Regions from separate parts of the Homo sapiens genome. Here regions 1, 2, 3, 4, 5 and 6 are each linked to region 7. Evidence: promoter capture Hi-C in 16 types of primary human blood cells and fetal thymus (Javierre and others, 2016). All regions are on one chromosome and are shown on one strand. The core of a region is centred on a gene start or on the middle of the fragment in contact, and the rest is flanking DNA. Distances in the headings are between cores, read along the strand shown.

Region 1 (3,450 bases), core at 104-2,603, 1.1 Mb after region 7:
GTAACACTCCTACATTGATTCATCAGTTGTAACAAATGTACCATTAGCAGGAGAGGGAAATATGGAAACTCTCCATACTTTCTGCTTGATTTTTCTTTAAAAGTAAAATTGCTCTAAAAAACAGTCTATTTTTTTTTGGAAGTCCTTTATTGTAAAGGTAATTCTTTTGTCTGATGACAAACAGCAGCCACAGTGATTATTCTGGATCTCCACAATGGACAAATTCAATTTCTTCTTGAGACACAAGTTTACTTCTATATTTCTGAGGTAATGTTTTCATTACTTCTGCAGTGTCTGGTACATCCACAAATCCAGTAATTTACTTCCCTTAGAATGCTGGGAAATTGCAGAATCGTGAGATGGTTGCCCTGCTGATCTCAGAGCTTCTGGTACATTGGGTTTAGGATTGTCTCTTCCAGCAGGGAAGCTTATTAATGGAGCATGTGGCTTGACTACCTGAACGACACTGCTAGCAGATGCATCTTGCTGCCCATCATGACCCCCGAGAAGGGACAGTTTCTATTATATTTTTTTAATCTACAGCCACAGCATGCTTCATGGTAAAATGCTGCAAGCTTTGCCTCTCAGATTGGGAACAAGTTAAGGATGCCATTATCATCACTTATATTCAACACTGTACTGAAGATCCAGTGAAATAAGACAAAAAAAAAAAAGCCAATATACAGCTTACATGTAGAGTTAGAAAAGGAACTATCATTACTTGCATATGATATTATAGATGTAAAAATCTAAAAGAATCTATAATTATTAGAATTTGTAAGTGTAATTACTATATTAGTGAATATAAAATCAACAAACAAAAATCAATTGCCGGCCAGGTGCGGTGACTCATTCCTGTAATCCCAGCACTTTGGGAGGCCAAGGTGGGTGGATCACTTGAGGTCAGGAGTTCAAGACCAGCCTGGCCAACATGGTGAAACCCCATCTCTACCAAAAAAATATGAAAATTAGCCAGGAATGGTGGCACATGCCTGTAGTCCCAGCTACTCAGGAAGCTGAGGTGGGAGTATTGCTCGAACTCAGGAGGCAGAGGTTGCAGTGAGCTGAGATCACACCACTGCACTCCAGCCTTGGTGACAGAGTGAGACCGTCACACTGTCTCAAAAAAAAAAAATTGCTATATAGCAACACTAACATAAAATGAAAGCAAAAAATAAACAACATTTAAAATAATGTAAAAAAAAAACCTAGGAATAAATCTAACAAAAGATGCAGAAAATATGTAACCAGAAAACTATAAACATTGAAAGAAATTAAAGAAGTCTCAAATAAATGGAAAGATATATTGTGTTCACGTACTGGAAGACTCAACATTGTGTAAAGAGGTTAGTCCTCTCTCAAATTGATACATTGGTTCAGTGCAAATAGAATTAAAATGTGACCATATTTTTGTGTGGGGAACTGACAGCTGATTCTAAAATTTCTACAAAAACGTGAAGGGCCAGGGATGGCCATGACACTCTTTTCAAAAGAAAAATATTAGGATAACTTGACACTAAACCTTAAGACTTTTTTAATGCAGTGCACAAGTAACCATAAGTAGAAACAATGGAACAGAATATACAGTCCAGAAACAGAATAATGCATATACAGATACTTGACTTCTCTAGAAGATAACATAGGATAATATTTTCATTACCTTGCCATGAGAAGATGTCTAAAACAAGATGTACAACGTATAAGTCATAAAGGAAGAGACTGTATACTGGGCCATATTAAGTTAAGAATGTTTATTCATTAAAAGGCACTATTAGGATAATCTGATAAAGATAGCTAGAAAAATACCTATAGCAATTTTATATTTAATAATGAATTATTAAACATTTTTCAACACTACCTATTCAACTTCTATTCACTATCTTGCACTTCTATTCAACTCGAAGTCCTAGCTGGTACAGTAAGGCGAGAAAAAGAAATAAAGCCCTAAGTATTAGAAAGAAAGCTGTCATTATTTTCAGGTAACATGACTGTGCACATAGAAAATCCAAAATAATCTGTGGATCAACTATTTGAACTAATAAGTGAATTTAGCAAGATCTCTGGATATGAAGATAATATACAAAATCAATTGCATTTCTATAAAGAGCAACAAACAGAAAATGAAAGCTTAAAAGATACCATTTACAATAATTTCAAAACACACAAAAAGAAATGTAGTATCTTTATACTGAAAACTATAACTTTACTGAGAGAAATTTTAAAAGACCCAAATAAATGGAGGGATATTCCATGTTCATGGATTGGAAGACTCAATATTGTAAAGATGTCAATTGTCTCCAAATTGATCTACAGTTGCAATATTGTATCAGGTTTTTTCCTTGCAAAAACTGACAAGTTGACATCAAATTTAAAAGTTTCTGCACAGCAAAGGAAACAATCAACAAAACGAAAAGGCGACCTATGGGCTGGGGAAAAAAATTGCAACCACATATCCAATAAGGAATTATACTCAAAATTTGTATATTTTTAAATTTTTTTGTAGAGATGAGGTCTTGCCATCTTGCCCAGGCTGATCTTGAACTGCTGGGCTCAAGCAATCCTCCCACCTTGGCCTCCCAAAGTGCTGGGATTACAGGCGTGAGCCACCACACCTGGCCTCAAAATTTATAAAGAACTCTTACAACTCAATACCAGAAAAACAAATAACCCAATTAAAAAATGGGAAAAGCCGGCCGCCGCCCCGTCTGGGAAGTGAGGAGCGCCTCTGCCCGGCCGCCCACCGTCTGGGAACTGAGGAACACCTCTGCCCAGCTGCCGCCCCTGCCGCCCCAGGAGTGCCTCTGCCCAGCCGCCCACCCTCTGGCAAGTGAGGAGCGCCTCTGCCCGGCCGCTGCCCTGTCTGGGAAGTGAGGAGCGCCTCTGCCTGGCCCCCACATTGTCTGGGATGTGAGGAGCGCCTCTGCCCGGCCCCCGCCCTGTCTGGGAAGTGAGGAGGACCTCTGCCCAGCTGCCGCCCGTCTAGGATGTGAGGAGCGCCTCTGCCTGGCCGCTGCGCAACCTTCCAAGTGTGAAGTGACAGCCTTGTGTGTGATCTTTTCTGTCTTCCCCAAGTTTGCATTTTCAATATTAAAGTTTACTTTTTAATTAAAAGTTAAAAATAAATTAATTAATTAATTAATTAAAAATAAATAAAAAATGGGCAATGGACCTGAACAGTCATTTCTCCAAAAATAGAGGCCAGGTGTGGTAGCTCACACTTGTAATCCCAGCACTTTGGGAGGCTGAGGCAGGAGGATCACTTGAGCCCAGAAGTTTGAGAAAAGCCTTGGCAACATAACAAGGCCCCTGTCTCTACAAAAAAGTTTTAAAAATATTAGCTGAGTGTGGTGCCATGCACCTGTAATCCCAGCTACTTGTGAGGCTGAGGCAGGAGGATCATGCATGCCCAGGAGTTTGACAGCAGCCTTGGCAACATAATAAGACCCTGTC
Region 2 (3,203 bases), core at 23-2,522, 1.4 Mb after region 7:
TCTTTATGACCTGTATCTTGTGCTGAGCTATCTCATCCTGTGACTAAGAATGCCTTAACTTACTGGGAATGCAGCCCAGGTCTTAGCCTTATTTACCTAGCCCCTATTCAAGACGGAGTTGCTCTGGTATAAATACCTCTGACATTCTCACTTATAAGTGGGAGCTAAACATTGAGCAAACATGGACCTAAACATGGAAACAACACACACTCCAGGCTACTAACTAGAGTGGGGAGGGCGGGTGGTGTGGGTTGAAAAACTATTAGGTGCAATATACCCATGTAGCAAACCTGCAACCTACCTGGGTGCAATATATCCACGTAACAAACCTGTACCTGTACCCCCATTTGTAAAATAAAAGTTGATTTTTTTTAAAGGCTTACAACGCTCCCTATGACCTGGCCCCTGCCTAACTCTTCAGTCTCATCTGTTACTCTCCCTCCAATTGTGTTTCAGCCAAACTCAACTATTCTGTTTCTCCATCAAGCTTTTGCATATATTGTTCCTTCTGCCTCTTCACGCCTCTTGACTCAGTTAAGATGCACTTTTACCCTGTTAGCTTTCAACTCGGGTTTACTTCATCCAAGGACTCTCTGACCCTCTTCGCCCCCAAACTTGGTAACGTTCTTCTGTGTGCTCCCAGAGCACACACCCTGCCATATCAGAGTTGCCTGTTTTGCTCTGTGCATTCCCCACCAGACTGCAGGCTCATTGAAATCATAGGCCACATTTTGTTCATCCACATATCGTAACCACCCTCACAGTGGCCTGGCACGCAATAGACACTCAATACTCTTTCTTGAACGAATAGAAGATAGGAGATTTAAGCACCTGGAAGAGAAATTTTGAGCAGCAGAGACACTGGGAGGCAGCCATTTCAGACGAGGTGAAAAAAGGTTCAAAACCTTCTGCGTCAGGAGCATGCGAGACACAGTCCAACCTCTTCCTTGGCCTCAGCCCCGCCCCGTTTCTTTCACCCAGAACTCGCCTCACCCCCCTGCGCTAGTGACTGCTTGTGACCTCATGCAGGTGTGATGAAGTCGCTCAAGGCCATGCTTGGGCTAAAGACACTTTGATCTTCCCGAGGGGGTGAAAGGGCGAGGTGACAGGAAAGTGCGCGTCTTGCTTTTGCACTCATAGTTATCATCCACCGGGGAGTCGGTACACCGGCTCGTCTAGACAACCAGGCGCCATGGGTGCGTCATCAACTAGTGACGGGAGAAGACGGGGCGGAGAGAGATCCGTGAAGGAAGTGACGTAAAACGAGCGCCACAGAGAACGCGAGCCGGGAGTCCGTGGAGGCCATGGCCCCTCGGCGCCTCCTGTTGGTTGGGGAGGGGAATTTCTCCTTCGCCGCCGCTCTGAGCGAAACCCTGGATCAGAGCACTCAACTTACCGCCACCTGCCTCCAGCGCCCGGCCGAGTTGGCTCGGGATCCACTGGCCTGGGAGAATCTGCAGTGCCTGCGCGAGCGAGGTAGCGAGCCCGCCCCTCTGCGAAACCCCGCCCAGCGGCCGGCGCGTCCCAAAGTGGAAAGGGTGGGGGCGTGGGGATGTAACCCACGTGGAGATTGTTCTTGATCGTCCCACGGATATTCACATAAAGCCGGCTTTGTGCCCAGACTTGGGCTGGTCTGCACGGTTTAAGTTAGGAAGAGTTTTTCTGTTCCATGTCTTGAGGCATCCTCCTGTCTATATTTTGCGCCCCCAAACTATCTTTGCCAGGTATCGATGTACGTTTCGGTGTGGACTGCACCCAGCTGGCAGATGTCTTTGAACTGCACGAGAGAGAATTTGATCAAATTTATTTCATCTTCCCGCATTGTGGACGCAAAGCTGGCGTAGCTAAGAACAGGGAACTGCTTGCCAAATTTTTCCAAAGGTGAGGAAAGGAGCGCCCTCACAAGGAAAATGTTTAAGATGTCCATAACATAGTTACTGTACCCAAACATAAGGCACACGTGCAAGCTACTATGATATGTTTAGAAGAGACTATAAAGCCCCAAAGGAACCCCAAGTTTAGTTGGAAAGACAGATATATAAACCCTAAATGCTAAATGAAAGTACAAATAATGTACTCTTGGGTGTGTAAAAGAGGATCATTTATTTTTGACAGTGCAAAATAATGAGAGCCATATAGTCTAATGGCTAAGAACGTGCACTTAGAAGCCAGACTGCCTGGATTCAAATCCCAGCCCACCACTTAACAGTTGTTATTTTTTTATTTTTATTTATTTTTATTTTTTGAGACAGAGTCTCGCCCTGTCGCCCAGGCTGGAGTGCAGTGGTGTGGTGCAATCTCGGCTCACTGCAAGCTCCGCCTACTGGGTTCACGCCATTCTCCTGCCTCAGCCTCCCAAGTAGCTGGGAGTACAGGCGCCCGCCACCACGCCCAGCTAATTTTTTGTATTTTTAGTAGAGATGGGGTTTCACCGTGTTAGCCAGGATGGTGTCGATCTCCTGACCTTGTGATCCGCCTGCCTTGGCCTCCTAAAGTGCTGGGATTACAGGCATGAGCCACCACGCCCGGCCAACAGTTGTTATTTTAAGCAAGCTTACTTAATCTTTACATGCTTCCGTTTCCTCAACTGTAAACTAGGGATATTAATAGTAACTAACTGGGCCAGGCGTGGTGGCTCATGCCTGTAATCCCAGCAGTTTGGGAGGCCGAGGTGAGCAGATCACCTGAGGTCAGGAGTTTGAGACCAGCCTGGCCAAAGTGGCAAAACCCCGCCTCTACTAAAAATATAAAAATTAGCTGGCCGTGCTGGCACGTGCCTGTAGTCCCAGGTACTTGGGAGGCTGAGGCAGGAGAATCGCTTGAACTTGGGAGGTGGAGGTTGCAGTGAGCTGAGATCGTGCCACTGCACTCCAGCCTGGGCGACAGAGCAAGACTCCATCTCAAAAAAAAAAAAAAAAAAAAAAGTAACTAACAGCCTCATAAAATTATTGTGAACTGAAAACAGTGCTTTACATGATTATACCACAAGACATGATACTATTGGAGGTGTCCGATGGGGCATAGCTGTCAATAAAGTTTTGACAGAGGTGGTATTTTAAACTAGTATTTGAATTTCAGGAGGGCAGTGAAAAGAACTTTCTAAATGGGAAGAAACAGCCTAAGCAATGAATCATATATAGGAACTGTGCAGATATTGATCTTTCTGTGACATATGCATGAATGACACAAATGCAAAGCAGACC
Region 3 (3,110 bases), core at 586-3,085, 1.2 Mb after region 7:
CTTTGCAAATATCTCTGTTATACAGTACTTATCAAACTGTATTATAATTATCTATTTTATTCATCATTTTATTTCCTACTGTGTACGGAAGCTTCCAAAAACTAGATGACAAGAATATTCTTTGTATCTCCCAGTTGTTCCAAAATAATGCTTGGCACACTGCTTGCCTTCAGTAAGCGTTGAGGAGTAACTAGGTTGTACCTCCCACCTTATTGTGAGCATCTGTGTGCCGGATGACATTCCTCAGGAGGACCTTCCCCAGTGGAATCCGGGACATTCTTCAATCTGAAATGAATCAACAAATAACGTTTAGTAATAATTTCTGTTATTACTTTATCTTTTCTTGAAGTTTTATAAAGAAGCATATGAGGTACAGGAAAGATCACTGAACTAGAAGTCAGAGATTCTAAAGAATAGTTTTCCCTTTACCATTAAAAGAGGGAAATGCCTAAACACACTAATGTGAGATGAAAGGAGATAATGTACATTAAAGTTCTTTGAAAATGCACAAGACTACATAAAATTAAGTGCTTTCATGAGCACCATTTTATTTAATCCTCATAACTACTTTTTATATGAGGCAAGTATCTCCATCCCTATTTTGTAGATGAAGTTCCCTTAAAGCTGTAACGTCCCAAGCCACATAGTCCCAGGCAAATGATGTATGTCACTGTCTAAATTAAAAATCAAACCTCCAATCCCAATATAGTTTGCACTGAAGCAAATACGTAGATTTGAGAGTGTCAGGAACCACGGGTGTCAACAGTAACAGAAACTGATTACTCAAAACATCAAATGCAAAGATGTCCTAAATTTCTCCATTTGGGGGCATTTTATTTCCTACTTGCTACGGAAGCTTCCAAAAACTAGATGACAAGAATATTTTCGTGTGTAGCTAGCAGGAGCTTTGTGCAACCACCCCAACGCTCACTCACCCCTTGATCCTGAGGAAATCAGGCATCTTGCTAGTGAGACGAAGAACCACTCCATTACAAGATCTCCTCCGACCCAGGAAGCCAAGGAGTCAGGGCTCAAAGGCAGCTCTGCAGCTTCACCCGAGTCCTTCGTGAAAACGCAGCCTTCCCACTGGTTACTCTGCCCTCACCTGTGGCCCAGGCCACTGCCGCGTTTCCCCCAGCCCAGACCGACAGGCAGATCTCTCTCCCGGACTGAGGCCGGAGGCTGAGCCGGGGCGGAATTCGGACAGCCCGGTTGACCTGGGCATTCCCCGCTCACGCTCCTCTAGGACGAACCCCGGGGGTAAGTTTCACTCCCCAGAAAGGCTGGGAACGCTTTGGATGGCTACGGCCTTCGGTTGGGCCCCAGAAAGTATCTAGGGAGCCTGAAGCGGGGGTTGAGGTTTCCAAGTGGAAGACAGAGGAAATATCCCCATCTTTGTCACCGGGATCCCTGTTCCCCAGCGGCCTCGGAGCTCCCGGTAACCTTCCCTCCAAACGCCCTCCCCACACAAATACACACAAACACACCCATACCGTGCGCCGCAGCCTCGCGTGGCGGGGGGTAGGGGGGAAGAAGTGGTTTGGGAGAAAAAGGAGGAGACTTCCTTTTCAGGCCGGAAGTCGTGCTCCTGAGAAATCGTCCCACCAACAGGCAGCCCAGAGACTCCCACAAGGGAGGGTTTTCAGGACACTCCAGAGGTTGACGGGTGCAGAAGGAAGGCGGGCGCTTTCCTGGAAGAGAAGTGGGTCAGGCCCAACTGAAAAGCAAGCCTGGCACCAGAAGGGGGACATTCCGGAACTAGATATGAAGAGACTTTTCTCCCTGAAGTTCCCCGGACCCAATTAGATGTTGTACCCAGGCTGGTTACCCTGGTAACAGGCGTCGCGGTTTGTCAAGGAACTGAGAGAAGAGGTGGGTTTGCCAACCTATAGAATGATTACCCGTTAGAACTGAGAGAAGAGGTGGGTTTGCAGACCTATGGAATGATTATCCGTTAGTTAAGTTTCCCGTTTAGCATAACCCTTACACAGTAATTGAAGAATCTAAACCTCTTTTCCTCATTCTAAAGATGCTGTGGGACACCTCTCCAATGGGAGAAGAGGCTAAGGAGATTTATCTGAAGACGTAGAGAAGTGTCCCAGCCTCTCTATTAGCTTACTTAATCTCGCAATAATCCTATGGTAGAGGTATTATCGTCTTCATTTTGAACAGAACATTAATTGCTCAAGGTCACAGAGCTAGTGAGAGATAGAACTAAGACCGGAATCTAGGCATTCTGGCTCACAAGTCCATGCTTTGAAATACTAAACTATACTGAGGATTAAGGAAGTCTTATGTGGCCCTCACCCCACACCACACCTCTGGCAATTTCAGAACTGGGGAGCCACCAGTCAGGTGTTGGAACAAGAAGATCAGGAAACCCAGACTTAAAATGATTACTCTGACTTGTCAGGGTCCAAATAGAAGTAAGGCCTTATCTGAGAGGACAATGTGAGAATTTAGGAAGAGGTACTAGATAATTAAAGAATAAGGAAAACATAAAGTGGTGCTGATCCACAACCTTTTAGACACAAATGCTGTCCTAACTTCACCAAAACAATTCCTGACCCATTCCACCTCCCCAAAGCAGAAATGAATCAATAATTACACAGACAGTTTTCTTCCTGAAGTCGTGTTTTTCCACAGGCTTAAGAAAATTATTCACCACTCATAAGTCATGGAGACATCCTCAAAAGGTCTGCTTACCCAAGTTACTCAGTTTTGGAACCTCCTAGATGATCTAGCTCAGAGTGACCCTGAGGGCTATGAGAAGTTTATTCAGCAGCAGCTGAAAGAAGGGAAACAGCTCTGTGCTGCCCCAGAACCACAGCTTTGTCTACAGACCAGGATTCTGGTATGTCGAGTTGGTGCCAGGGATGGGGAGGTCTTGAATGAAATGATCCCAGAATAACCAGAGAATACTTTACACTTAGGTATTGCTAATTTTTTTTGTTTTTTTTTTGTTTTGTTTTGTTTTGTTTTGTTTTTTGAGACAGAGTCTTACTTTGTCACCAGGCTGGAGTGCAATGGTGTGGTCTTGGCTCGCTGCAACCTCTGCCTCCCGGGTTTAAGCGATTCTCCTGCCTCAGCCTCCCAAGTAGCTGGGATTA
Region 4 (3,103 bases), core at 281-2,780, 1.2 Mb after region 7:
TGAAGTACAAAGGACACTGAGACATTTGTTGCTCTATATCAAAGAAAAAAGTGTTTGTCCCAAAACTTCAAAATGTGTAAATTACACATTCTGCATCTTTACAGCTGGAGAAAATTCACTGGCAATGGAATATTTAAAATTAGAGCTTGCTTAGTGTGCTGCTTCTGATCACTACTTGATCCCACTTCGTGCTTTCATGTTAATTGGCCCAATTGGACTCTACAGTTGGAAGGTGAAAACTTACTATTTCAACTTGAGTCACGTATGTATTCTTATCATATACTTCTTAAAGGTACTATTTTTTTTCTTCTGATAGTCACCACACCAAGCACTTCCAGCCACCCTGCCACAGACTTCCTTTGTAATCACTGTTGAAGGACATGATGTTTTTATGACTTCCCGAAATGAAAACCCTATCTTGTTTTTAAAACAAACAAACCAACAAAAAGTAGTGTTTATGTAAGCATTTTGTTCCCTGACTCTAGGAACCCCTCTGTTTTTATATCAACTCTGTACTGGCAAAACACAAAAACAAAATGCCACCTTGCTAATTCCCTTCCTAGCAAAGTAATACAGTTTAGCACATGTTCAAGAAAAAAATGGCTAAGAAATTTTGTTTCCACTAATTATTTTCAAGACTGTGATATTTACACTCTGCTCTTCAAACGTTACATTTTATAAGACTATTTTTTAACATGTTGAACATAAGCCCTAAATATATGTATCCTTAAATTGTATTTCAAATATTTTAGGTCAGTCTTTGCTATCATTCCAGGAATAGAAAGTTTTAACACTGGAAACTGCAAGTAAATATTTGCCCTCTTACCTGAATTTTGGTATCCCTCTCCCCAAGCTTACTTTCTGTTGCAGAAAGTGTAAAAATTATTAAATAAAATTCTAATGATGGTATCCGTGTGGCTTGCATCTGATACAGCAGATAAAGAAGTTTTATGAAAATGGACTCCTGTTCCACTGAAAAGTAAATCTTAATGGCCTGTATCAACTATCCTTTGACACCATATTGAGCTTGGGAGGAAGGGGAAGTCCTGAATGAGGTTATAAAGTAAAAGAAAATATTTGCAAAATGTTCCTTTTTTTAAAATGTTACATTTTAGAAATATTTTAAGTGTTGTAACATTGTAGGAATTACCCCAATAGGACTGATTATTCCGCATTGTAAAATAAGAAAAAGTTTTGTGCTGAAGTGTGACCAGGAAGTCTGAAAATGAAGAGAGACAGATGACAAAAGAAGATGCTTCTAATGGACTAAGGAGGTGCTTTCTTAAAGTCAGAAAGAGATACTCAGAAAGAGGTACAGGTTTTGGAAGGCACAGAGCCCCAACTTTTACGGAAGAAAAGATTTCATGAAAATAGTGATATTACATTAAAAGAAGTACTCGTATCCTCTGCCACTTTATTTCGACTTCCATTGCCCTAGGAAAGAGCCTGTTTGAAGGCGGGCCCAAGGAGTGCCGACAGCAGTCTCCTCCCTCCACCTTCTTCCTCATTCTCTCCCCAGCTTGCTGAGCCCTTTGCTCCCCTGGCGACTGCCTGGACAGTCAGCAAGGAATTGTCTCCCAGTGCATTTTGCCCTCCTGGCTGCCAACTCTGGCTGCTAAAGCGGCTGCCACCTGCTGCAGTCTACACAGCTTCGGGAAGAGGAAAGGAACCTCAGACCTTCCAGATCGCTTCCTCTCGCAACAAACTATTTGTCGCAGGTAAGAAATATCATTCCTCTTTATTTGGAAAGTCAGCCATGGCAATTAGAGGTAAATAAGCTAGAAAGCAATTGAGAGGAATATAAACCATCTAGCATCACTACGATGAGCAGTCAGTATCAACATAAGAAATATAAGCAAAGTCAGAGTAGAATTTTTTTCTTTTATCAGATATGGGAGAGTATCACTTTAGAGGAGAGGTTCTCAAACTTTTTGCTCTCATGTTCCCTTTACACTAAGCACATCACATGTTAGCATAAGTAACATTTTTAATTAAAAATAACTATGTACTTTTTTAACAACAAAAAAAAAGCATAAAGAGTGACACTTTTTTATTTTTACAAGTGTTTTAACTGGTTTAATAGAAGCCATATAGATCTGCTGGATTCTCATCTGCTTTGCATTCAGACTATTGCAATATTGCACAGAATGTAGCCTCTGGTAAACTCTGTTGTACACTCATGAGAGAATGAGTGAAAAAGACAAATTACGTCTTAGAATTATTAGAAATAGCTTTCACTTTAGGAACTCCCTGAGAATTGCTGCTTTAGAGTGGTAAAATAAATAAGCTTCTCTTTAAACGGAATCTCAAGACAGAATCAGTTACATTAAAAGCAAACAAAAAATTTGCCCATGGTTAGTCATCTTGTGAAATCTGCCACACCTTTGGACTGGGCTACAATTGGATAATATAGCATTCCCCGAGATAATTTTCTTTCACAATTAAGGAAAGGGCTGAATAAATATCTCTGTTTGAAGTTGAATAACAAAAATTAGGACCCCCTAAATTTTAGGACTCCTGAAATTCGTCTTTTTGCCTATATTCAGCTACTTTACGTTCTATTAAATCTTCTTTCAGGCCAGGTGCACTAGCTCATGCCTAGAATCTCAGGCAGGCCTGAGCCCAGGAATTTGAGACCAGCCAGGGCAACACAGTCTCTACAAAAAAATAAAAAATTACCTGGGTGTGTTGGTGCATGCCTGTAGAACTACTCAGGATGCTGAGGACTGCTTGAGCCCAGGATAGCCAAATCTGTGGTGAGTTCAGCCACTAAACAGAGCGAGACTTTCTCAAAAAAACAAACAAAAAAACAAACAAACTTCCTTCAAAATAACTTTTTATCTGCAATGTTTTCCTATTGCCTGTGAGATTAAATTTACTCTTTTACCTGATTTCCAAAGCCCTCCATAATCTAATCCGACTTTACCTTGTGTTCACTGCAAAATAGCAGGACTGTTCCACTACAATCCAAAAATCACAGGTTGGGTGCAGTGGCTCACTCCTGTAATCCCAACACTTTGGAAGGCCAAGGCAGGTGGATTGCTTCAGCTCAGGAGTTCAAGACCAGCCTGGGCAACATGGCAAAAACCCTGTCTCTCCAAAA
Region 5 (3,533 bases), core at 929-3,428, 1.1 Mb before region 7:
ATCAATTATTCTATAATGAAGATGTTTCATGAACTGGGGCATGTATTTGTCAAGAAACTTCTTATCTTCATGAACTGAATTTCCTAGAAAGACACGAAGCATACTGCATCTCTATATTTCTAGTATTATACAACAGGATATCAAAATTCATAAGTTGTATTTGAAATGGAGATGATTTTTTAAAATTCAAACAATTCCTAAAAGCACCTCTATATTTCTAAATCAGGTTTGGGTAAATGTGATTAGCTTACAAGTACAGATTTCCAAGTACTTAGTCAGTTTAGCTCCTTATAAATTTGTAAATGACCTCTCATGAACAGAAGGACAAATCTATCATTCCACATGCTTGATGTAATGCACAAATCTATTTGTTACTTTCTAAGGTCATACCTGATATGCAAACTTTCTCCCAGTGTCACAAAATTCACACCACTAACACTAAAAATTTAACTGAATCACATAGGTAGATAAACCTTTATTTACAATCCAAATTTTTAAACAAATCATATGCATATTTATGTCCCCAAAAAGTAACTTATACTAAAAACACTAAATTTTAAATGAGACCTTTAAAACAGATATCAGCCACATTGGCTGGCGGAAACATTTACACAATATATGCTCTAGTACTTAATGCCAAAACTTATTTTTATAAATGTTTAAGAACAGTATTAGCTACCACATCGACTTACATATACAAACGTACATATACCTTCAGAGAAACATTAACTTCCCTCTGGCAATGTCACCCTTTTAAAAATCCTGGTAGAACAGGCCTGGTCTCTTTAGAAAGTCAATGACACAGGGGAAAAATAATAGGTGGAAAGTTTTACATTAAGAGACTAAAGAAATATAACTAAATGAAATGCACGAGCCTTGACTGAATCCTGGTTCAAAAACAAATATTTTGGGGAACATCTAATGTGGACTAGATATCATATGATACTGAATAATGTTTAATTATCTTCAATGCAATGACATTGTATTACATAAGAAAATGTCTTTATCTTAGGAGATGTTTGATGAAGTATTTAGGAATGAAGTGTCCTGATGCCTGCAATTTCCTTTAAAATGTCCAACAAAAAATAGGTAAAACAAATACGACACAAGGTTAACAATTACTAAATCCACTCCTCTGTGCATGTGAAATTTTTCCATCATAAAAATATGGGAGAAATTCTTATTGAGTAAGTTTGTGTTTCCCAGATCTCATGTCAGGTTTCAGGGCATTTTCCCAATACTCATGCTATAAACTACACAGAGAAACTTGAACAGAAAAGTTAAGATGTGTAACCCAAAGCAGGGTTAAGTGGAAGACATGGATGGGCTCGGCTAGTCTTTCTGGAACTGCAGTCTCTTGAACCACTACATATGGAAGACTATAAGATATACACAGGATTGGATTTTACCTGCAAGTGGACAGAGCCCTGGAGGAGTCTGCTGTCGTACAAAGGACAGAAATTCATACTCTGCCTGCTGCAATGTAATTGTACTCTCCTTCACTGCCTTGGTAAGGCCAGACTGCAAGAGAGAATCCCCAGCCCCCCACCAAAAACACATGTAAAGTCAGTTTTCAAAGGCATCCAGAAATGAAATTTCACTTTTAAAATGGGCAAATATAACCACAAATAGACCATTTTTAGAGCTCAAGTTCAAATTGCAACTGCCATCTTTGCACCATTTTTTTTTCTTCAAGAATCCAAGCCAACTTAGTTATGATCCTGACTGTTAATAGCATGTCCACAGTCAAAAAAGACGGTGTTCAAAGTCCAAGGATATTAACCTCTGGGAAGAAACAACTATTAACAGGAGAGCAGCAATCCCCCTTCTCTGAAAGTTGATGTCTAACCTTATCCAAAAGACTGACTTGAGTAATACTTGACAATCCACAATGCGTTCGCGACAGACTGAATGTAGGAGAGAAAAAAAAGAGGACATTCAGGAGAAGATGATCTCGAGAGGTCCCAAAGATGAAAAGTAAACAAGCAAGCAGTTTCCCAGGCTTGCCATGCAATCTTCTCTAAGCCTTTTTAAAATACCATCCAACAATGGTATCGGATTCAGGTGTGGGAGCAAAAAGCTTGCTACTGATCCCCAAAGCAGCAATCCTGTTATTTGGTAATGTTACCTTCCCGTGATGCTCCTTACACCAATCTGACATGCTGTCCAGCAACTCATCTGGTTGTTTTATAATCAGGTTAGGACCCTGTGGATGGGAAACGCCATCAGTCACCAAGAAACAACAGGAATAACCTTACTTTCAGAGGGAAAGCTTAAGCTGTTTTAAGGACTAAATATACATATCAGAGAAAGTAAGAGATAAGGATACTTTAAGTGTTCCCCCTTCATTCCAGCACTGTTCATTAAGGCAAAATAGAACATACGAACATACACACACCACTGAAAACTCTAATCCTACAAATAGATGACACAGATATCTATCAAGGGTCAGCAAACTATGGCCCCACACTTCAGCTATTTATTAATAGCTAGAAAGCTAAGAATGATTTTTACATTTGTAAAAGATTGTTTAAAAAAAAAAAAGAACATATGACAAGAACATATGACTGCACTCAAAGCCTAAACAATTTAATAACTTGCTCTTTCCAGAAAAGTCTGTCAACCCTTGATTATGAGTTCATTTTGAAAAGTGTCTAGGCCAAGCATGGTAATCCCAGCACTCTGGGAGGCCGAGGTGGGAGGATCACTTGAGGCCAGTAGTTCAAGACCAGTCCAGGCAACATAGCAAGACCTCATTTCTACAAAATTAAAAAAAAAAAAAAAAAAATTAGGTGGGCCTGGTGGCACACCCCTACAGTCCTAGCTTCTCAGGAGGCTGAGGCAGGAAGATCACTTGAACCCAGGAGTTCGAGGTTACAGTGAGCTACATGCCACTGCACTCCAACCTGGGTGACAGGGTGAGACCCTATCTCTTAAAAAAAAAAAGTATCTATATTGCAGGTGAAAAAAACAATTGCAAAACCATGTATGTATAGGTATGATTTCATTTACACTTGTTTTAAAAAAAACACGCATTTATATAAACATACAAAATATCAAGACAATACATAAACTTGGAGTAAGAAGGAGCAATAGAACAGGACAAAAATCCAATAGTTCACTACACACATACTTTGGATAGTTACACTGTTTTAACAGTATTTTTATATTTAAAAAAAAATTAAAGAGGTAATTGTTGATATCCAAAACACAAAGTAGCCCTCAAATTCTCAGCTCCATTTCATAGAACATCCAAGTATGAGTCTCTCAGATAAGTCCTGGCAGTTAACAGTAGCTACGGCATTAAAGCAAGTCACCTCAGCTTCTCCCTCTGTAAGATAGTGATAATAATAAACTGTACCCCTTCCCTCATAGAAATGTTAACAGGATAAAAGAAATTATAGATATGAGCTCTTTGAACTCTCTGATAGAAAAGTATTCCATAAATCCAAGGTATTATTACTACTAAGGTGGTAAAAACAGTTCACAATCACTGAAAGAAATGGCTAGAATTTAATTAAAATACGCCTGAC
Region 6 (3,464 bases), core at 1-2,500, 1.3 Mb after region 7:
CATCCGAAAGGGTGAGACGGGGCCTAAGAGATGACAAGGGCACGACCGAGGGGGAGGGGCCTAAAAAGGCGCAGAGACGCGGGTTAATTGCGGCCGAGTGGCCTGAGAGTCTGGGCCGAGGGGCGTGGCCAAGCTTTCTGGAAAAGCTGGAAGTGAGCCCGGGAACTGGCTAGGGCAGTGGGAGCCTCAGGCCAAAGGGCGGGGGTCTTGGAGTGCTGGGGTGGTGAAGGAGCCAGGAATCGCCCGCGAGGGAATCGAGGGGTCCGGCGTGGTGACCTCTGCTTCTGCGCATCCGAAGGGGGATGGACTGGGCCGCGCCCCGCGCAGGCTGTACTGGTTGCAAAGATTTCGTTTCAGGTTTGTAGCCCAAGTGGAAAGTGGAGTGAACAGGTGTTCCACCCAGCCAAGTGGTAACGAAAGGCAGCCCAGAGGAAGATACATTCCCGCATTCATGTATACTGTAGCAAGATTAAGCATATTCCCTGTATGAAGATATAGGTTTACAAAACAGGTGTTGCTCCCTAATACCATAGAATTCTTTTAAGTAACCAAAAGCTTCGTTATGTTTCAAATGTTTGAAAAACTTAACTGTAAGCCGTTGAAGGCATGAAGAGTGTCTGCGTGGTCCTTCCATGTAGCCCCAGAGCTTAATATCCAGTAAATAGCGGGGGCTGAATGTATGTCTTTTGAATCAATGAATAAAAAGTCATCTACACATTTTGTTAGGCACGCTTCTCTTGTAAAGTTGTCTTTTAATTAGAAAACATATCGTTTCTGAACTGAAGGTGACATTAGATAAGGAGGAAGCATGTGCTGTGTATCACCACCTCCCCCCTGTAGAGATGGTTAGAGAACACCAAGAACGCAAGAGGAAGTTGGAGGGAAGAAACTTAAAACAAGATTTTAGCCAGGAGCGGTGGTGCATGCCTGTAGTCCCAGCAATGCTTGAGAGGCTGAGGTGGGGGAATCACTTGAGCCCAAGAGTTTGAGACCAGCCTGGGCAACATAATGAGACTCCCATCTGTTAAAAAAAAAAAAAAATGGGGGCTAATCTTGCTAACAATTAATTTGGAAAACTAAAACAGATTGGATGTACTATTTCATGCCTACTTAAATTGGAATGTTTAAGCAGGTACAGCTGTCTATCAGAATAATATGTAAGCAATATAATTGAGAAATATAAAATTTCTAGATTGAATGAAAAGGCATATTTTAAATAATATGAAGAGAGCAATTATATTGTTACAATTATGTACAACTTATGAATTAACAATTGGAAGAAGCAATGAAAGAATAATTGTAATTACTGAAAGGACTTATTACTATTATTTGGGGATGGAGTCTCACTCTGTCGCCCAGGCTGGAGTGCAGTGGCATGATCCCGGCTCACTGCAACCTCCACCTCCCAGGTTCAAGCGATTCTCCTGCCTCAGCCTCCCGAGTGCTGGGATTACAGGCACGTGCCACCATGCCCAGCTAATTTTGTGTTTTTAGTAGATACGGGGTTTCACCATGTTAGTCATGCTGGTCTCAAACTCCTGACTTCAGGTGATCCACCTGCCTCGGCCTCCCAAAGTGCTGAGATTACAGGCGCGAGCCACCATGCCCGCCCAGGACTTATAAATTATTATAAAAATGTTTTTGAGTTGGCTAAAATATCTTGCTGCTTTTGCTGCATTTGAACTTAATAACTGGATCTAAATTAGACTTTGGTATAAAGTATGAGGTGATCTTCCGGATCTGTTGTGCACTTAGGTATGCTTGCTTAAACCCTGTTTTGCATTTTTCAAAGAATAGCGAGTTTGTGTCTTGAATATACTTTTGACTTAAGTGTAGTTAAATTATAGGAATGCATAGCTCAAACAGTCCAGAGATGGCGAGCTTACCCCAGAGGTGGGCTAGGAATGCTTAGGTTTCTCAAATCAGTCCTGAGAGAACAAGCTTGAATTCCACTAAACAGACTGGATAAAGGAAATTATGGAAAAGGAGACTCAAGACTCAAAGGTTTGAAATAGAGATACTTAAGAGAATGGTGATATCACTGATATTGAGAGAAACAGAAATTAGTTGGTAGTGAAAGATTTTGAGTTATGTACATATTTAATTTTAACATAATGGGATAGCCAATTAATAGTTGAAAATACGTAATTGGAAGTCAAATGAAGGCACTCAGGGATAAAGAATTTAATATAGCAAACATTTAAGATGAATTGATAAGAGGCATTTAAGAGGCAGCTTTCAAATGATCTGGGAATTCTGGTCATTTTAAATACACATTTCTGAAAGAGTTCTTAATGCTTGCATACTGACTTTTGTCATAGAGTTTATACTCTTGGGTTCTTATTTGTTTGCATGTTTACATATAATTTCAAAATAAGTGCTAAATAAATTGTCCTTGATAATAGCCTATGTGCTTACATAGAAATACTAATTGTAAAATATCTGTAGCAATAAAGTAATTCTTATCTCCACTCCACATAGTGAGTAAACATGCTACCAGGGAGATCACTTGAGGAAATTTGCTTTCACTAAATGTAAATGGCTTTATTGATTAATCTCATCAGTAAACGCAAGTGAAAATCATTAATGATATTTAGTTTGCAAACCCCATTTTATTCATAGTTTGTGGTTTTTTAAATTAGTTCACAAATCTGGTACATACCGGCAGTTAAAACTGGTTATCACTTTGATAATCAGAAGCCTCTGGTGTAACATAGTCTTCATGAAAACATATTGTAAAACAGGGAGAATACACAGTAATAATCTCTTTGAAAGCAATGGCTGTAAACATCCATGTTTCTAAGAAAATATAACTTTACATATATATGTATTTTAAGCAAGCTATACCTCTTACATAAATTCAGACAGTAGAAGGAGTGTGCAATCATAATGCTTATTTTATGGAAACAGTGAAAATAATTTTAATTATGACCTAAATGCTTTTAAGTAATTAAAGTCCTCTTGAATTGGATGTATAGTATAAAGATATTTTCCCTAATTTGCAACCATCCTGGTCAAAAAGAGCTGAAAAGTTGGTCAGTAAGTAGAAGTGCCATTACCAAGTAAGTTTAAAACAAATTCTTCAAATTTAAAAATGTAAAAATTGTAAAGTATCCCAATCCCCCCAGCTAATTTAGGGAACTGAGCAAGAAGAGAACATTCTTCAGTTTTTAAATGACTTTTTTTTTTTTTTTTTTGGAGATGGGGTCCTGCTCTGTAGCCTAGGCTAGAGTGCAGTGGCATGATCAGCTCACTGCAACCTCAAACTCCTGGGCTCAAGCAATCTTCCCACCTCAACCTCCTGAGTAGCTGGGACTACAGGTGTGTGCCACCATCCCCAGCTACTTTTATAATAAAATTTCTATGTAGAGACGGAGTCTTCCTACGTTGCCCAGGCTGGTCTTGAACTCCTGGGCTCAAGCAGTCTTCCTGCCTCGGCCTCCCAAAGTGCTGGAATTACAGGC
Region 7 (3,132 bases), core at 52-2,551:
CTTTGATCATGACAGGCTGGTCTAGTCAGAAGCTTAAATGTGGATGTGTGACAGGTAACAAACTTGGGGCAATTTGCATCTAAATGTCCATACTTGTTTAAAATCTGCCTTTGGCTTGTTTCTGAAGAGTGAAGAAAGGGTACAAATTGACTGAAGGGATTAGAACATAATGTTACCATGCTCACCAGCGTCTCTTCTGCTCTAGGTACCTCAGATATTATTTTACAGTTGTTTTTGTGCGAGAAGGCCCCGTGGTGTACCCAGCAGTACTCAGTGGTTCATCCACAGATCATAAAAATCATCGGGAAGATTGTTAAATATACAGCTTCCTCAGCCGTAGCCCGAGATTTCAAGTCAGTAAACCCGGGACATTGCCCAGACACGAATATAGATTTTAAACACTTTCCAGGTGATTCTCATTTATGGCCAGGTTTCATAGTAGTGTAACACGCTTCTAACACGTAATCTGCCACGAACAAACTACGAGTGATTTAATCGAGTCTCAGTGTCCTCATCTCCACCAGTTACAAGCTGTGTGATTCTGGCTAAATTCACAACCTCTCCGAGCCTCAGAGTCCTCACCCATACTATGGGAACAGTAAGAGAGAAACTACGAGGACTATTCTGGGGACTGATGTAAAGCACCAGGCACGCGACGAGTCCTCACCGTGAAGCACCCTTACCTATATAAAACAGGGGGTGGGGTTGCGGCTTAACTGAATAATCGCTAGGGTTTCTTCCAGGTCAAATCTTTTCAACTCCCACGGAACAGAGGCCTAGTCCAGTGAATTAATCTGCCCAACGGTATGAAGGTTAGAAGGCAGGCGCGCGGGTGCATGGACAGGAGACAACCTCTGTCTCCCAGGGCATGGATCTCAGGGTCCTCACTGCCTGGCCAGTGCCCCCCTACGCTAGGGTGAGAGGGCCAGAGCCAGGTGATGGCGAAGCGGCGCCGCGCTCAGTGCTTCACTCGGTAGGGCTGCGGCAGCGGGGACCTGTGCCCGAGCCCCGCGCGGAGCCTGCCCCAGACGCGCGCTGCCCGCCGGGCGCAAAGAGGCCAGGCCGCACGCACTGTTGCCCAGCAACCGCTCCCAGGCGTCCGCAAGTCCCGGGCCCTCCATGCAGGTCCCAGACCGCAGCCGTCCCAGACCGCAGCCAAGACCTTCCCATGCTCTGGGGCCCAAAGCAGCGTCCTCTGCTCGGCTCTGAAGGCCAGTGCAGGACCAGCTCCCAGGGGGGATTCCGGGGTACCCCGCGGCACCGACCTGATTCGCCCAGCTTTGGACAGGAAATGGCGCAGTGACCTGCCTGGGCTGGGGCGGGGCCAGGAGCCAGGGGCCCGGGGCGGGACCAAGGGCGGGGCCAGGAGCCAGGGCCCGGGGCGGGACCAAGGACGGGGTCAAAAGCCAGGAGGCGGGACAGGGGGCGGGCATGGACACGCGATCAGATTCGCTACCGCAGAGCTCTAGCTCCGGAGCGCGCCAAGTTGAAGGCCAAAGTCGAGGTTGGGATGCCCGATGCCTGGCGCGGGGAGACGGAGGAAGCAAAGTGCTGGTAACTAAAGCAGCGCCTGCTGCTCGCCTTTTTTCTACTGAAGAAGGGTTGTCTCACTCCCGTTAGCTTAATATCCTTGCCCAAAATGTAAAGTCTCCAGTGTACTTGTGAATCCGGTTTTGTTCATTGATAAATGTGTGAGTTAGAAGACTCACACATTTATCCTTAGGAAAGTTATTTGAGTAACCTTTTTAATCCTCAGTTTTCTCACCTGTGAAATGGAGAAATGGCACTTTCTCATAAGGTTTATGGTTAAAGTGCTGTAACCGCCCAATAGGTTCACCTTGCTCACTGCCTAAACAGAGTCGATTTATCAAGACAGGGGAATTGCAATAGAGAAAGAGTAATTCACACAAAGCTGGCTGTGAGGGAGACCGGAGTTTTATTATTACTCAAATCAGTCTCCCTAGCTTTCAGGGATCAGAGTTTTTAAGGATAATTTGGTGGGTAGGGGTCAGTGAGTCGGGAGTGCTGATTGGTAGGCTAGGAGATGAACTCACAGGGAGTCAAAGCTGTCCTCTTGTGCTGAGTCAGTTGCCAGGTGGGGGTCATAAGACCAGATGAGCCAGTTTATTCATCTGGGTGGTGCCAGCTGATCCATCGAGTGCAGTGTCTGTGAAATATCTTAAGCACTGATCTTAGGTTTTACAATAGTTGATGTTATCCCCAGGAGCAATTTGAGGTTTAGAATCTTGCAGCCTCTAGCTGCATGACTCCTAAACCATAATTTCTAATTTTGTGGCTAATTTGTTAGTCCTGAAAAGGCAGTCTAGTTCCTGGGCAAGAAGGGGGTTTGTTTGGGAAAGGGCTGGTATTGTCTTTGTTTCAAAGCTACACTATAAACTAAGTTCCCCCCAAAGTTAGTTTGGCCTATGCCTAGGAATGAACAAAGACAGCTTGGAGATGAGAAGCAAGATGGAGTCGGTTAGGTCAGATCCCTTTCACCATCTCAGTTATAATTTTGCAATGGTGGTTTCAGTGCCTGGTACCTAGTCAGTAGGAACAGGTGGCACGTGACATCCGGGGAATCATAGGGTTTAGAACAGAATGAGCTAATAGGCACATTCATTCATGCCCCAAATACATGCACACAGCCCTAAAGAAATTTCAGTCTGTTTTTCTAAACAAAATCTCAGAGTATTATGTGCAGGGTTACCAATGGAAAAAAAGCAGGTTTAGGGGAAACTTGAGCTTAAGTTCACGGTCAGAAACACCCGGAACTTCTTGGCAAATGAGTGCTTTATGGAAACCTGTTTGGCAGGGAACAAGGAGCCCCTAGAGATGGAATTCGCCAGAGGGGAGAGGGATCCAGGCATGGCCAGCTAGCTCTAGTGTTGATTCCAAGTACAGCCTGTTGACTCTCTTGTGGCCTAGGCCCCATAGGATGCATGCCTGTGTCCTGTAGAGAACAGAAGAGCTGTTTGGCTGAAGTCTCTATGATGCATTGGTACACATACCATCCTGCTTGGGTACCCCTCTAATGCAGTATAACACAAAGGGGCCACGGATGTTCTGCTCCTCTTGGCAGCTGAATGGGTACAGCATCAGCAGAGTGAGTCTTTTGGCTCATCAACTGCA

The links. Contacts are between HindIII fragments. The CHiCAGO score rates a contact against its expected background, and 5 or more counts as called.
Region 1: a contact is called between a fragment that was not itself captured here and the fragment with the promoter of TTC12 in region 7, in 2 of 17 cell types (naive CD8 T cells and total B cells). The highest score is 6.0, in naive CD8 T cells.
Region 2: a contact is called between the fragment with the promoter of FDXACB1 here and the fragment with the promoter of TTC12 in region 7, in 7 of 17 cell types (naive CD8 T cells, total CD4 T cells, total CD8 T cells and 4 more). The highest score is 9.1, in naive CD8 T cells.
Region 3: a contact is called between the fragment with the promoter of PIH1D2 here and the fragment with the promoter of TTC12 in region 7, in 1 of 17 cell types (non-activated CD4 T cells). The highest score is 5.5, in non-activated CD4 T cells.
Region 4: the fragment with the promoter of IL18 here is called in contact with the fragment with the promoter of TTC12 in region 7 in 1 of 17 cell types (monocytes); the score reaches 8.1 in monocytes.
Region 5: a contact is called between a fragment that was not itself captured here and the fragment with the promoter of TTC12 in region 7, in 1 of 17 cell types (total B cells). The highest score is 6.6, in total B cells.
Region 6: a contact is called between a fragment that was not itself captured here and the fragment with the promoter of TTC12 in region 7, in 2 of 17 cell types (monocytes and activated CD4 T cells). The highest score is 6.4, in monocytes.

What each region holds. Positions count from the first base shown.
Region 1 is chr11:112,205,645-112,209,094 of GRCh38, reverse strand. All of the region lies in intron 8 of BCO2 (beta-carotene oxygenase 2), which reads right to left. It also overlaps the pseudogene MRPS36P4. Among named protein-coding and RNA genes, the nearest start is that of PTS, 19 kb to the left of the region's middle. The HindIII fragment of the contact is 1,552 bases long and covers 578-2,129 here.
Region 2 is chr11:111,877,234-111,880,436 of GRCh38, reverse strand. It overlaps FDXACB1 (ferredoxin-fold anticodon binding domain containing 1), which reads left to right and starts at 1,272. Exons shown (of 5, transcript NM_138378.3): 1 at 1,272-1,476; 2 at 1,725-1,881. The coding sequence starts at 1,305. CFAP68 (cilia and flagella associated protein 68) reads right to left here and starts at 896. Exons shown (of 4, transcript NM_022761.3): 1 at 832-896. The coding sequence starts at 876. RefSeq lists enhancers at 1,019-1,488, 985-1,604. The HindIII fragment of the contact is 2,066 bases long and covers 490-2,555 here.
Region 3 is chr11:112,072,742-112,075,851 of GRCh38, reverse strand. PIH1D2 (PIH1 domain containing 2) reads left to right here and starts at 1,835. Exons shown (of 6, transcript NM_138789.4): 1 at 1,835-1,872; 2 at 2,647-2,854. The coding sequence starts at 2,678. NKAPD1 (NKAP domain containing 1) reads right to left here and starts at 1,553. Exons shown (of 6, transcript NM_018195.4): 1 at 936-1,553; 2 at 209-285. The coding sequence starts at 277. RefSeq lists enhancers at 1,061-1,110, 1,171-1,290, 1,701-1,750. The HindIII fragment of the contact is 10,336 bases long and covers 859-3,110 here.
Region 4 is chr11:112,162,521-112,165,623 of GRCh38, reverse strand. It overlaps IL18 (interleukin 18), which reads left to right and starts at 1,530. Exons shown (of 6, transcript NM_001562.4): 1 at 1,530-1,718. TEX12-AS1 (TEX12 antisense RNA 1) reads left to right here. Exons shown (of 3, transcript XR_001748384.2): 3 at 105-262. The HindIII fragment of the contact is 1,434 bases long and covers 856-2,289 here.
Region 5 is chr11:114,442,529-114,446,061 of GRCh38, reverse strand. It overlaps REXO2 (RNA exonuclease 2), which reads right to left. Exons shown (of 7, transcript NM_015523.4): 3 at 2,129-2,206; 4 at 1,410-1,521; 5 at 1-83. Among named protein-coding and RNA genes, the nearest start is that of REXO2, 4.8 kb to the right of the region's middle. The HindIII fragment of the contact is 192 bases long and covers 2,083-2,274 here.
Region 6 is chr11:112,021,713-112,025,176 of GRCh38, reverse strand. It overlaps DIXDC1 (DIX domain containing 1), which reads right to left. Exons shown (of 20, transcript NM_001037954.4): 20 at 2,524-3,464. Among named protein-coding and RNA genes, the nearest start is that of DLAT, 2.0 kb to the left of the region's middle. RefSeq lists an enhancer at 618-807. The HindIII fragment of the contact is 1,386 bases long and covers 558-1,943 here.
Region 7 is chr11:113,312,752-113,315,883 of GRCh38, reverse strand. It overlaps TTC12 (tetratricopeptide repeat domain 12), which reads right to left and starts at 1,301. Exons shown (of 22, transcript NM_017868.4): 1 at 1,266-1,301. It overlaps TTC12-DT (TTC12 divergent transcript), which reads left to right and starts at 1,428. Exons shown (of 5, transcript NR_199709.1): 1 at 1,428-1,554. RefSeq lists silencers at 931-1,030, 923-1,217, 1,241-1,490. The HindIII fragment of the contact is 13,389 bases long and covers 35-3,132 here.